Regions from separate parts of the Homo sapiens genome. Here region 2 is linked to region 1. The links are contacts of gene promoters, found by promoter capture Hi-C in blood cells and fetal thymus (Javierre and others, 2016). All regions are on one chromosome and are shown on one strand. Each heading gives the region's core, a stretch centred on a gene start or on the middle of the fragment in contact. The rest is flanking DNA. Distances are from core to core; before and after follow the strand shown. Region 1 holds the start of HSD17B10 (hydroxysteroid 17-beta dehydrogenase 10). Region 2 has its middle 42 kb from the start of FAM156A.

Evidence for each region. Contacts are between HindIII fragments. The CHiCAGO score rates a contact against its expected background, and 5 or more counts as called.
Region 2: a fragment that was not itself captured here is called in contact with the fragment with the promoter of HSD17B10 in region 1 in 3 of 17 cell types (fetal thymus, total B cells and naive CD4 T cells); the score reaches 8.1 in fetal thymus.

The regions. Positions count from the first base shown.
Region 1 is chrX:53,433,090-53,438,644 of GRCh38, reverse strand. HSD17B10 (hydroxysteroid 17-beta dehydrogenase 10) reads left to right here and starts at 4,275. Exons shown (of 6, transcript NM_004493.3): 1 at 4,275-4,326; 2 at 4,759-4,923. The coding sequence starts at 4,300. The HindIII fragment of the contact is 11,572 bases long and covers 2,980-5,555 here.
Region 2 is chrX:52,997,133-53,003,167 of GRCh38, reverse strand. No RefSeq gene overlaps it. Among named protein-coding and RNA genes, the nearest start is that of FAM156A, 42 kb to the right of the region's middle. The HindIII fragment of the contact is 8,235 bases long and covers 1-6,035 here.

The sequences.
Region 1 (5,555 bases), core at 3,026-5,525:
AGTGGGAGTTTCTAGGAAGAGCAAGTGATGAATATGTCAAATGCAGCCAGAAAGGTCTGATTACACAAAGCCTGAAAAATTACAGTTGATTTAGGCAACGGTAAAGTCACCATAACCTGAGGCTGTCATCCTTCAGGTTCATTCAGACATCAGCCCCATTTATTCAAGTGGCAAACACTCAGCCAACATGCGTCCTCAGCATCCTCTCAAACGCTCGCCACAGTAATTTTCATGTCCCCTGCAGTCCTTCAGCGTTTAAACCAATCATTCAGATTGTGCCCCAGCTCACTCAGAAATGACAGGCTCTGTATAATCATCACTTGGGGTTCTTCTTTTCCCCTCACATAGATGATGATATAATTGGGATTCTTTATATTTGTCAATGTCACCTCAGAGCCAGCTGGAACCAGTGCAGCTCTGTCTTTGCAGAGGTAACTGCAGGTGCCCACAAGAGTTAAATGGGTTATCTTGTGGTTTTTATCTCCCAGGAGTGAAGACCACCCAGGAGTAAAGACCACCTTTATTCTTCTCTGTTTCCTGGCAGGGCTAATTTGACACAATGCTGCGTGTTGCTTGTTTTGGTGTCCTTGCTGGGCCCCTTTGCGCACCTCTGGCCCTCAGGTTCCCATGAGACATGCATCCAAACTGTTGAGTATGTGCGTGTAAAGGTTGACATCACTTTATTCCCTATTTTTTTGTGTGTGTGGAGACAGGGTCTTGCTATGTTGCCCAGGCTGGTCTCAAACTCCTGGGCTCAAGACATCCTGCTGCTTCAGCCTCCCAAAATGTTAGGATTACAGGCGTGAACCACTGCACTCAGCCCCTATTCCCTATTTTCTAATGGTTTTGAGACAGAGGTGCGTGCAATCAAGAGAGAGGATGCTCAGTAGCAGAAATCCCCAAGAAAGTGGGAGGGGCTGGGACACAAAACCCAGTGGAAGGGTGAGCCCTAAACAGGACATCTCTGAGACCCAAGGAAAGGATGGTGTGGGTGGGTAGAGACAATTTTGGAGGTGGCAAGAGAGAAGTATTCACTAATGGCTTCCGTTTGCTCTAAAAACAGTTCTTTTAATTGTGCAGCCCTCAGAACCAGAAGAAGTTCAGAGAGCTCCCTCTAAACACAGTTCTTAACCCACAATCCAAAAGACCCCTGAGGAGTCAGTGAATAGAATTCAAAGAGCCCATGGACTTGGATAGAGGGGAAATTGCATCATTATTTTCACTATTACTAACAGAAATATAGCATATCCTTCCAGGGGATGTGGGTAACAAACTGCAGTAATATTAGCACCTGTGACTTTGACACTAAGAGAGATCAGATTTTCATTATTACGGTTGTTGCATATCTCTCAAAATAACATCACTATTTCAAAAATCATGGTTGTCACTAGACCTGTTGATAGAGCTTGCTATTTAATGTGTTAATAAAGAAGCACATATATTACTACATTACAGGTGCGTTTCCTTTTATTTTGAAAATTGTACCCCAATATAATTGGTTTCTTTTGTAATCCTACTTATAGGACGCATGCATTATTCTGGGAAGGGGTTCCTAAGACTTCACCAGACTCCCATAGGTGTCCGTAGCATAGAAAAGGATGAGAAACACTGCTCTGAAGAGTAACCATAGCTAACACTTATATAGCTCTTGCTAAAGGCCAAGCACTGTTCCAAGTCCTTTTTAAATACATAGTTGTTAACTCATTTATTCCTAACAACCCTACGAATAGTCATTTGTTTATACTCATTTTACAGAAGAGGAAACTGAGGCACATCAGTTAAGTAACTTGTCCAGGGTCATTCGGCTAGTAAATAATAGAGCTGAGGCTGGGCGCGATGGCTCATGCCTGTAATCCCAACACTTTGGGAGGCTGAGGCAGGGCGGATCACCTGAGGTCAGGAGTTCAACACCAGACTGGCCAACATGGTAAAATCCCATCTCTACTAAAAATACAAAAATTAGCCAGGCGTGGTGGCCCATGCCTGTAATTTCAGCTACTCTGGAAGCTGAGGCAGGAGAATTGCTTGCACCCAGGAAGCGGAGGTTGCAGTGAGCCAAGATGCGCCACTGCACTCCAGCCTGGGCAGCGGGAGACTCCATCTCAAAAAAAAAAAAAAAAGCGGTAGAGGGGAAGAGATCCAAGACAACTCGAGAACATGGTCAGAGAGAGAAAAGATGGTGTGTAGATGCTGGGGAGGGCAGGAGGTTATTCCAGGGAATGACAAGTGCAATAAGGTGGCCTGGACAGGTGGTTAAAGTAGAGAGGAGGTGAAGGTTCCCGGAGTTGGGCAGGTGAAAGAATCATGAAACTGTGCCTGGAAATTCTTCCAAGATTAATTCATTAATTCATTTATTTCACACATTTGTTTTAAGTGTCTTGTACACGCCAAGCAGTGTTCTCGGCATTAGGTGAACCAGCTGGACAAGCCCCTGGTGCCATGGGGCTTACCTTCCAGCAGGGGGAGAACTACACAAACAAGGCCAGGTTAGCGGAGCATGCAGGCTCACAAGCCTGTAGGCACAATCCTGCAATGCCAAAACTTCTGAAAAGCATAAGGTTGTTTTTTCATACTTTGGAGCCCAAACTCAATAGATGACAAAACCTGACCTGAAGTAGTGTGAGGCTATTTATAGTCTTTATTCACACTTGGTGTGAATTTTCATACCTTTCACTTCAGAAATATTAATATTTCATTACGATGCTCCAGGCTTTTCTCAATAGTTATATAATATAGACTATACAAAAAGTTATGTTTGACTAGTTTTTTTAAAGAGTTATGTAATATAAATTACATGTCTTCCTTTCTCAAATTGAAAAAAACTCTGAATTCCACAGCACATCTGGCCCTAAGGTTGGAAAATGGATTACGGACATGCAAGTGCTATGAAGATAATTCAAATATGCAATGGGATAGTGTCTAGGTGGCTACAGTTTGAATATTTAGGGAGGACCCCTCTGGGAAGGTGATATTTAAGCTTAGTTCTGAATGAAAAAAAATAAAAGCAGTCATGCAAAGATCAGGGGAGAGCATTCCAAGCAGAGGGAGCAGCTAATGCAAAGATGAACACAAAGGAGGCCACTGTGGCTACAGCATATTGGGCCGGATGAAGAGTGCTATAAATTGATGGAAGCACTTCATGTAGATAGGAAAATTGTGAGACCGGTGTGCTAAATCCTTTGGTAAATACGGTGTAGTGATTATGAGTGTGGTGGCTGTCAACAACTAGAAGGCCTGGAGGGGAATCTTCCTGGGTGAGAAAGCAAGTGGGGGGAGATATTTCAGATAGAGAAAACATAAAGCAGTTCTGAGGCTGAAATGGTGGGCTAAGATTTATGGCCTGAAGACCTTGGTTTGAGGAAAAGTATAGAAGGAAGACAGATTAGATATCTGGGCTCAAGACTCTAATGACATAGCTTCTGGAAGCTGCCTGAAAGATGTTCTAGGATGACAAAGACCTGGGTCTTAAATAATAGTCTCTGGTTGAAGTCCAATCTGCAGTGTGTGATCTGGGCTTTTGGACTTAAATTAGACAAAGATAGAGGAGAGTAGCAAAGCCTGAACTGATGAAAGATGTTTTTGCCTCTTTAGGTTTGTGCTTCTCAGCAGCTGTCCTAGAATGTCTGTCTCCAAGCATCTCTCTTAGCGGCTTTCCACATTCATCTCTCTGTGATCCTACCTGGCATCTCTCTTCCTATCTCGGCCTCAACATATTTCTCTTTACATGGCTCTCTCTCTCTCTAACTCAGACTCCTCATCTTTGGATCTCCTTGTCTGAGTGTCCCAGAATCTGGTTCCGTCCATTCGTCTGTGTCTGTACTGTAATTCTCTTTCTCCACCTGGACTGTGCCCTCCTGGAAGGCATGAATCTTTTATTATTCCGCTGGGTATCCCAGGTGCCCCGCACACCGTCTAGCATATAGGAGTCTCAAATACATTCATACTTGAATTAAGACTTTTTCAGAGGAGAAAGGCATCCGTTCTCAATATCCACCCCTCTTCCCCCACGCGGAGCAGGCCACTTGCCAAAAGGCCAGCTAGAGAGTAGGGCGAGGGGTGTTGTGGTATTGTACTTCTGCTATTGGTCTCTTTCCCCAGTTGAAATAACTCTGGGGATACCTTAGCAGGCGGAATCCGCCCTCTGGCCAAAGGACTAGCGTACCAGGCCACGCCCCCACGTCTCATGCGGCAGCGGCAGACGCCCCGGCCCGTCGCATCCGCCCCTTCCGCCGCTTCGCCTCGGCCAATCAACGAGCGCCCGCGCCCCCATCCCCATCCCGTGGAGTGGCCGGCGACAAGATGGCAGCAGCGTGTCGGAGCGTGAAGGTAGAAGGTTCTTTGCCTCTGTTGCTTGCCTTCCTTTACGGGCCGGGACAGCGCGGCCGTGGAACTAGGAGAAAGAGATCGGTTTCGAGGGAAAGGGTCATGCTTATGTAGGCCTGGTATTGTGGCCGTTGGGCTCAAGAGGTGAAAGTCAGCACTCCGCGGCGCATCTGTCTGTCTGTCTGTCTGTCTATCTATCTATCTATCAATCATCTATCTATCTATCGTCACGGGACGGGCTGTCTGGGGATGAGATCCCTTCTGCCCCCGAGGTCCCAACGCTGAGGAGAAGCAGCACACCTAGTTTACCCGCAGGGGTGACCACGACCTCTCCCCTCCCCCCTTCTCCTCAGAAGCCTGGAGAACAGGCAGGCGACAGCGTGGGGATGGTCTGGGCAATGTAACAGCTGACCCTGACCATGTCCCTTTTGACAGGGCCTGGTGGCGGTAATAACCGGAGGAGCCTCGGGCCTGGGCCTGGCCACGGCGGAGCGACTTGTGGGGCAGGGAGCCTCTGCTGTGCTTCTGGACCTGCCCAACTCGGGTGGGGAGGCCCAAGCCAAGAAGTTAGGAAACAACTGCGTTTTCGCCCCAGCCGACGTAAGTGGGGTCACCTCTCCTCTCCCAGGGTGTGCATGAGGTCACCAACACCGGCCTGGGAACCTGTGGGGGTCCCTCCCATAAGGGTCTCCTCTATGGGGGCGGTAGACCCATCTCCTTGTCTCTTTTGGCCTGAGCCTTCAAGCACTGTGGGACCACCTGTGATAAGGATTCTCTAAAGCTGGGATTCACAACAATGAGGATGGGGATTGGACGTAACAATCTCCTGGAGGAGTTATGTATGGTTTGAAAATGCATTTTGTGCCTTGTAATTTTATATTTACAAAGTCAAAAAACTTGTTTTCATGAAACAAACTACAGAAAGTGAAACTTGATGAAATCATCTTAGCAGGTAAGGATACAAAAAAGCTAGTTTATCTTCCTATCAATAATTCTCACAAGAGGGTTATTTTTTATTTTTATTTTTGAGATGGAGTCTCGCTCTGTTGCCCAGGCTGGAGTGCAGTGGCACAATCTCAGCTCCTTGCAACCTCCATCTTCTGGGTTCAAGCGATTTTCCTGCCTCAACCTCCCAAGTAGCTGGGATTACAGGCACCTGCCACCACGCCCAGCTAATTTTTTTTTTTGTATTTTTAGAAGAGATGGGGTTTCACCATGTTGGCCGGGCTGGT
Region 2 (6,035 bases), core at 2,249-4,748, 430 kb after region 1:
GGGATTGACTCTGTTTCACAGTGGAGAAGACTGAGACACACAGAAGGCAAGGGAATGATCCCCAGTCACACAGCTAATAAGAGGAGGAGAAGCTGGGATCTGCACCAGCTCCAATTTCTCTGTTTGTATTCACTCCAGAGGCTGATTGGCAGGGAACATTTAGCATACTCATTGCGCTGATCTTCCTTACATTGAGATGAGCTGGGTTCTCTTATGCACATTGTCTAGCCCCTCGGGCATGTAACTTTGATAACCCTATTCCTGGACACCCTCCAGATACCCTCACACAAAACTCCTCTGTGGTGTAGGGATTGCTTTCATCACATGACTTTGCTTTATAGTTACTCAAATAATACTCGAATATGGGCCTGGTGTAAAAGACTCCATTAGGCTGGGCACAGTGGCTCATACCTGTAATCCCAGAACTTTGGGAGGCCAAGGTGGGAGGATCACTTGAGCTCAGGAGTTAAGACCAGCTTGGGCAACATAGTGAGACCCTGTCTCTACAAAAAACTAAAAAATGGCCAGGTGTGGTGGCACACGCCTGTAGCCCCAGCTACTTGGGAGGCTGTGGTGGGAGGATCCCTAGAGCCCAGGAGATTGAGGCTGCAGTGAGCTGTGATCACACCACTGCACTCAGCCTGGGTGACACAGTGAGAGCCTGTCTCAAAAAAAGAAGAATAAAAGACTCCATTAGTACATCAGTACACGGACTACATAGGCCATCCCCTTCCTCCACATTCTCTCCCTTCCCAGCTTACCACTGGGGTGAGGATCTGGGTGTTTGCTTGTTTTCTTCAAATACATTTCTCTGTGTTTAAACACACACACACACACACACACACACACCCCAGGTCCCACTATGAACTTTTCCACATTCCCCCATTAAGAGCGTGTCCTGAAGAAGATTCCTTTGACCAGTATAGTCTGGTCCCCTCATTCTGTTCCGTGGCCAGTGACTGCTCCCTGATATAATACAAGTCTCTCATTGTTCATTTACCATCCAGTGATCACTGACTATGAATGGACATTTAGAGGTTTTCCCTGATTGTTTGCTACTATCTTCCTTGTATACTAAGCTCTGTGCTATGTGTATGTTTCTTCATTATACATTCTTTTAAGTGGAATTGCTAGGGAAAAAGAGTTCAGCCATTCAACAACCATGCAGTGAGTGCCTGCTGTGTGGTGGGCACTGGAGAGACTGAGGAAACTGGATAGGAAAATGCCCCTGCCCTCATGGATGTAACATTCTAAGGGCTTACATATAAGGATTTTTCATTTTGATAGATGCTGCTCTGATGTTATTCATCAGTGGTGCAGGAGAAGAAAAGTTTGTTGACTGGCATAGTCACACCACTCATGGGGCAGGAGCTCTGTGGCAGTGGACTCGATGCTTAGACCTTTGCTCCCTTTAAGATCTTCAGGGTCTGGTGATAAGACTTTATCTGGGTGTGTTGTTGGGGAGAGAGGGAGAAAAAGATGGGGAAGGGCTGGTCTACTAGTAATACAGTGGAGGAAGGTGGGAATAAAAGTCTACTTAGCTGTGTGGAAGAGTGGCTGGGCACAGTTAGAAATGCAGTCTTGGCCGAGTGCAGTGGCTCATGCCTGTAATCCCAGCACTTTGGGAGGCTGAGGCGGGCGGATCACCTGAGGTCAGGAGTTCTAGACCAGCCTGGCCAACATGGTAAAACCCCGTCCCTACTAAAAATACTAAAAATACAAAAATTAGCCGGGTGTGGTGGTGTGCGCCTGTAGTCTCAGCTACTCCGGAGGCTGGGGCATGAGAATCACTTGACCTGGGAGGTGGAGGTTGCAGTGAGCCGAGTTCGGCCACTGCACTGCAGCCTGGGCAACAGAGCGAGACTCCATCTCAAAAGCAAAAACAGAAAGAAAGAAGAAGAAGAAAAAAAAGAAATGAAAGTCTTGGGCCCCTCCCCAGACCCACTGAATCAGAAACTCTGAAAGGTGAGGCCCAGCAATCTGTGTTTTAACAAGCTCTCTAGGTGATTCTTGATGCACACTAAAGTTTGAGAACCATTAGAGTAATCCACAGGACCTAAGTATGAAATAGCTGGCCCCTCTTGGATCTCACCTCCTGTGAGTGTGCAGCTGGGGATGAGGCGTGGAGGATGTAACATACCATTGCGGGTACCGGAAATGAACACACCATTATGCGAGATACCATAGGGGAAGGGAGCTTCTATTTTGTAAGAATACAAATGCTGTGTGTGGAGGGACAATAAAGCCCACCCCCGCCCACCAACGAAATCAGCCCCACCTTTCGACAGTAGGGCGGGCGCGGCGGCGAGCGCCCCAGGCGGCAATCCGTCCTCCTGGTTTCCACCCAGGCCCAAGCTGACACCCATTCTCCGACTTCTCGGAGACCCCTCTAGTCCCATTTTTGGCCACGCCCGTCTCCGTTCTACAGATCTGAATAAATTAGGAACCTGCAAAGGGGCAGTCGATCGGTTGTGGGACGATCAAGGCAGGAAGGCATCAAGGACCGCTCTGGGAAGCTCACCTAGAGAGTGCGGCTCTTACAGAGTACAGCGGGATGCACTCGTAGAGCCGGGTCCCTGGGTCTTCGCGCTCGCGCACGGTCAGGCACAGTGGCTGATGGGCGGAAGTTCGTAAAGCGGAGCCTGGGCTTTAAGGACTGGATGACCAGTGGGATCCAGTCTTCAAGACTTGGACTGTTGTTCAGTATGAGGCTAAAGATGCTTCCCAAGTCACAGGCAGGGCTTAAGTGAGACCACTCGCAAGGGGTCATCTGGCGCTCAGTGCGCAGGGCTCTAAGTTTTAGGTCATCACAGATCTGACTTGCAGTGTCCCAAGCACTTCTTTCTTATGTGCCATCTCATTTAATCCCCACTAGCACCTTTGGAAGAAAGCCCTGTCACCTCTGTCGCTGATGAGGACACTGGAGCGCCAAGAAGGCAGATCCCTGGCTGGGGCCCTCCAACCAGGGTGGGGCAGAGCTGGGGCCAGATGACAATTCCCGGAGGACCGCAGTTGGGACACTCCCAGCGCTCATGCTGCCCCTGTCCCTCCCAGGGTCCCTTCTCTGTCCTCACAGACCCAGCTGGGCAGTGTCCTCCCATCTCCTGAGGTGACACTCACCCCAGCGCCTCCTTCAGGAATCCCACCCCGCCCCCTCCAGCCCTAGGCGAATTGCCCTGGACTCTCAGTCTGGGTCTGGAGTTTCATCTGGATCTGGGAGACATTTCCAGTTCTGCCCTAACAGGGATGTTGTGACAGAAACCTGTGTGGGGGCAGGAGAGATATCTGTCCTGCAAAATGGTCTGCACTTTCAGGAAGTGCAGGGAGGGTCCTGAGGGGGTCCTCTGAGGTAGGCCTAGGTGCCGGGTGAGAGGACCGAAGTGGGCGTGAGAGGGTATAACTGAGGCCCCATGACTAGGGCTGGGGTAGGGAGGTAGAGGTCCGTGGTGGAAGGGGAGCCCTGGTGGCTCACAAGGGTGGGGAGCTGGGGAGAGAGAGGAGGTGTGGCAGCTGCCAATTGGAGAGGAAGTTTGGGAGAAAGGACCAGAATGCTCAGAAGGGCCATAATGGGGGTTGCCATTGGCAGTGTGAAGGGAGGACCTCTACTCTCTCTCCAAGATCCAGTTCCCCACAGTGGGTGCTGAGAGATGGCAAAGATAACGGGGTCTAGGGGTCTCCTACTGTGTTCTGGGATTTACCCTGAAGCCCCCATGGGGCAAGATACAAAAGTCACCAGGACCAAAGGTGATCAGGGTTGGTCAGACGATGGCCATTCCTGGGAGCCAGATATGAGAGCTTACTCTCTGATCCCCTCAGTCCCAGAGGGTCCTTCCCCATCCCTGGTGTGAACCTGCCTTCCTCATGACAACAACGGTGGTGACTGCAGACTGTGGGGAACTACAAGATCCAAGGCCTCCCCATAACAGTGTTGGATGGCACAGAGATTCAGCATCACACAGCAGCCCTGAGCTGATTCTTTGTGGGTATGTGTACCAGGGTGTAGCTGGTAAGCTCTTTGTGGGTTGGTGTGTGAGGTCCTTGAGTTATTGTGAGCTGTTACCTTGAGGTAGGAATTCTCTGAGCTGGTTGGGGGTCTGTGTCCTGAGGTGTGGCATCTTTGAGCTGTTTGGTGGTTGGTGTCTAGGGTGAGAGGTCTCTGAACTGCTTGTGGGCACTGTCCTAAGGCATGAGATCTTTGAACATTTTTGTGGGAGGTCTTTGTCCAGAAGGTTAGGTCTCCGAGCTGCTCATATATCAGGATATTTTTGTGAGGAAGGCAGGATGGTCCTTTCTCTCACAGGGGTAGAACAAGGTGCCCTGGTATCAGAGAGATGAAAACATAGGATCCTTATCCTTAGGGAGGGCAAGTCCTCAGTGTAGCATGTAGGAGCCAGTGGTACAAATACTAATGACAATGTCTGCAGACATTAACCCCATCCTTGCTCAGGGCCGACCCCTGTGACAAACCCATGTAACCCATGTTAACTCAATCTGCCAAATTGCCAATGAGGAGCTCACCATTTGCAGATGAGGAGGCTGAAGCCAAGTGAGGGTAGGGCCTGTGCTCACACAGTCCTCATGAAGAGGGAGGAACTGGCTGTAACTTGGACTCACTGGAGGAGACAGGGAAAGGCTCAGGCACAGCCGGGGTCAATGGGAGATGACAAGGAAAGGGGAAAGGAAGAGGTTTGCCCAGGGCCTCAAGGGCCCCATCACTGACTCACTGGTGGGAGGTCTGCCTCTCTGTCTCTCTGTCGCACACCCTGCTTGGTAATGGATGTTGAGAATGCAATCCTCACGTTACCTGTGGAAGTGGTGGCATGAGGTAAAGAGTGGGGAAATACCACAGATTCATCCATTGGCATGAGGTCCACCAGCAAATGTAGAGATTCCTACCTCTTCTTCCCCCTTGAAAGAATTTTTTTCAGGCCAGGCATGGTGGCTCACGCCTGTAATCCCAGCACTTTTGGGAGGCCGAGGCAGGCAGATGGCTTGAGCCCAGGAGTTCAAAACCAGCTTGGGCAACATGGCAAAACCCTGTCTTTACAAAACATATAAAAAAAAATCAGGCCGGGCATGGTGGCTCATGCCTGTAATCCCAGCACTTTGAGAGGCCAAGGCAGGTGGATCACTTGAGGCTAGGAGTTTGAGACCAGCCTGTCCAACCTGGCGAAACCCTGTCTCTACTAAAAATACAAAAATTAGCCGGGCATGGTGGTGCATGCCTGTAATCCCAGCTACTCGGGAGGCTGAGGCATGAGAATCGCTTGAGCCCAGGAGGTGGAGGTTGCAGTGAGCCGAGATCACACCACTGCACTCAGCCTCGGTGACAGAGGGAAACTCTGTCTCAAAGAAACCAAAACCAAAACAAAAAAATCAGCTGGGCATGGTGGCGTGCACCTATAGTCCCAGCTACTTGGGAGGCTGAGGTAGGAGGATTGCTTGAGCCCAGGAGGTTGAGGCTGCGGTGAGCCGTGATTGTGCCACTGCACTACAGCCTGGGTGACAGAGCAAGACTCTGTCTCAAAAAAAAAAAAAAAAAAAAAGAATTTTTTCAGCACTGAGAGTCAGCAGGACGGCAGTCAAGGGCTGGAGGGGGTATGGGGGATTCTGTATACAGCATGAGCCTCCCCATAACTGGAACGTGTCCTTATCCTGATGGGTAGAGGGTCCCAATGTGTGTCAAGGAAGTGGGGCGGGTCTTCCCTCATGACTGAGGCCCAGGCCAAGGGCAGGTGAGTCAGTCCCTAGACACAGTTTCTGGGGAGAGGCTTCCTTTCCTCTGCAGACACAGGCACAGCACCTAGTAGCATGCATAGGGGTCCGGAGCTGTGGATCTAATTCAGCAGGGACAGCCAGCTGCCAGAAGTAGTCTCTCTGCCCTTGTCTCTCTATTACTCTCTTTCTTTCCCTCTATCTTCTCTGTGTCTGTTACTTTCTCTCTCAGACATGGGGCTAGGTGTGACCTCACTCATGCTATCAGGGCCCTTGATCAGCTTCTTCTAAGGGTATCATCCTCTGACATGGATTTTTCT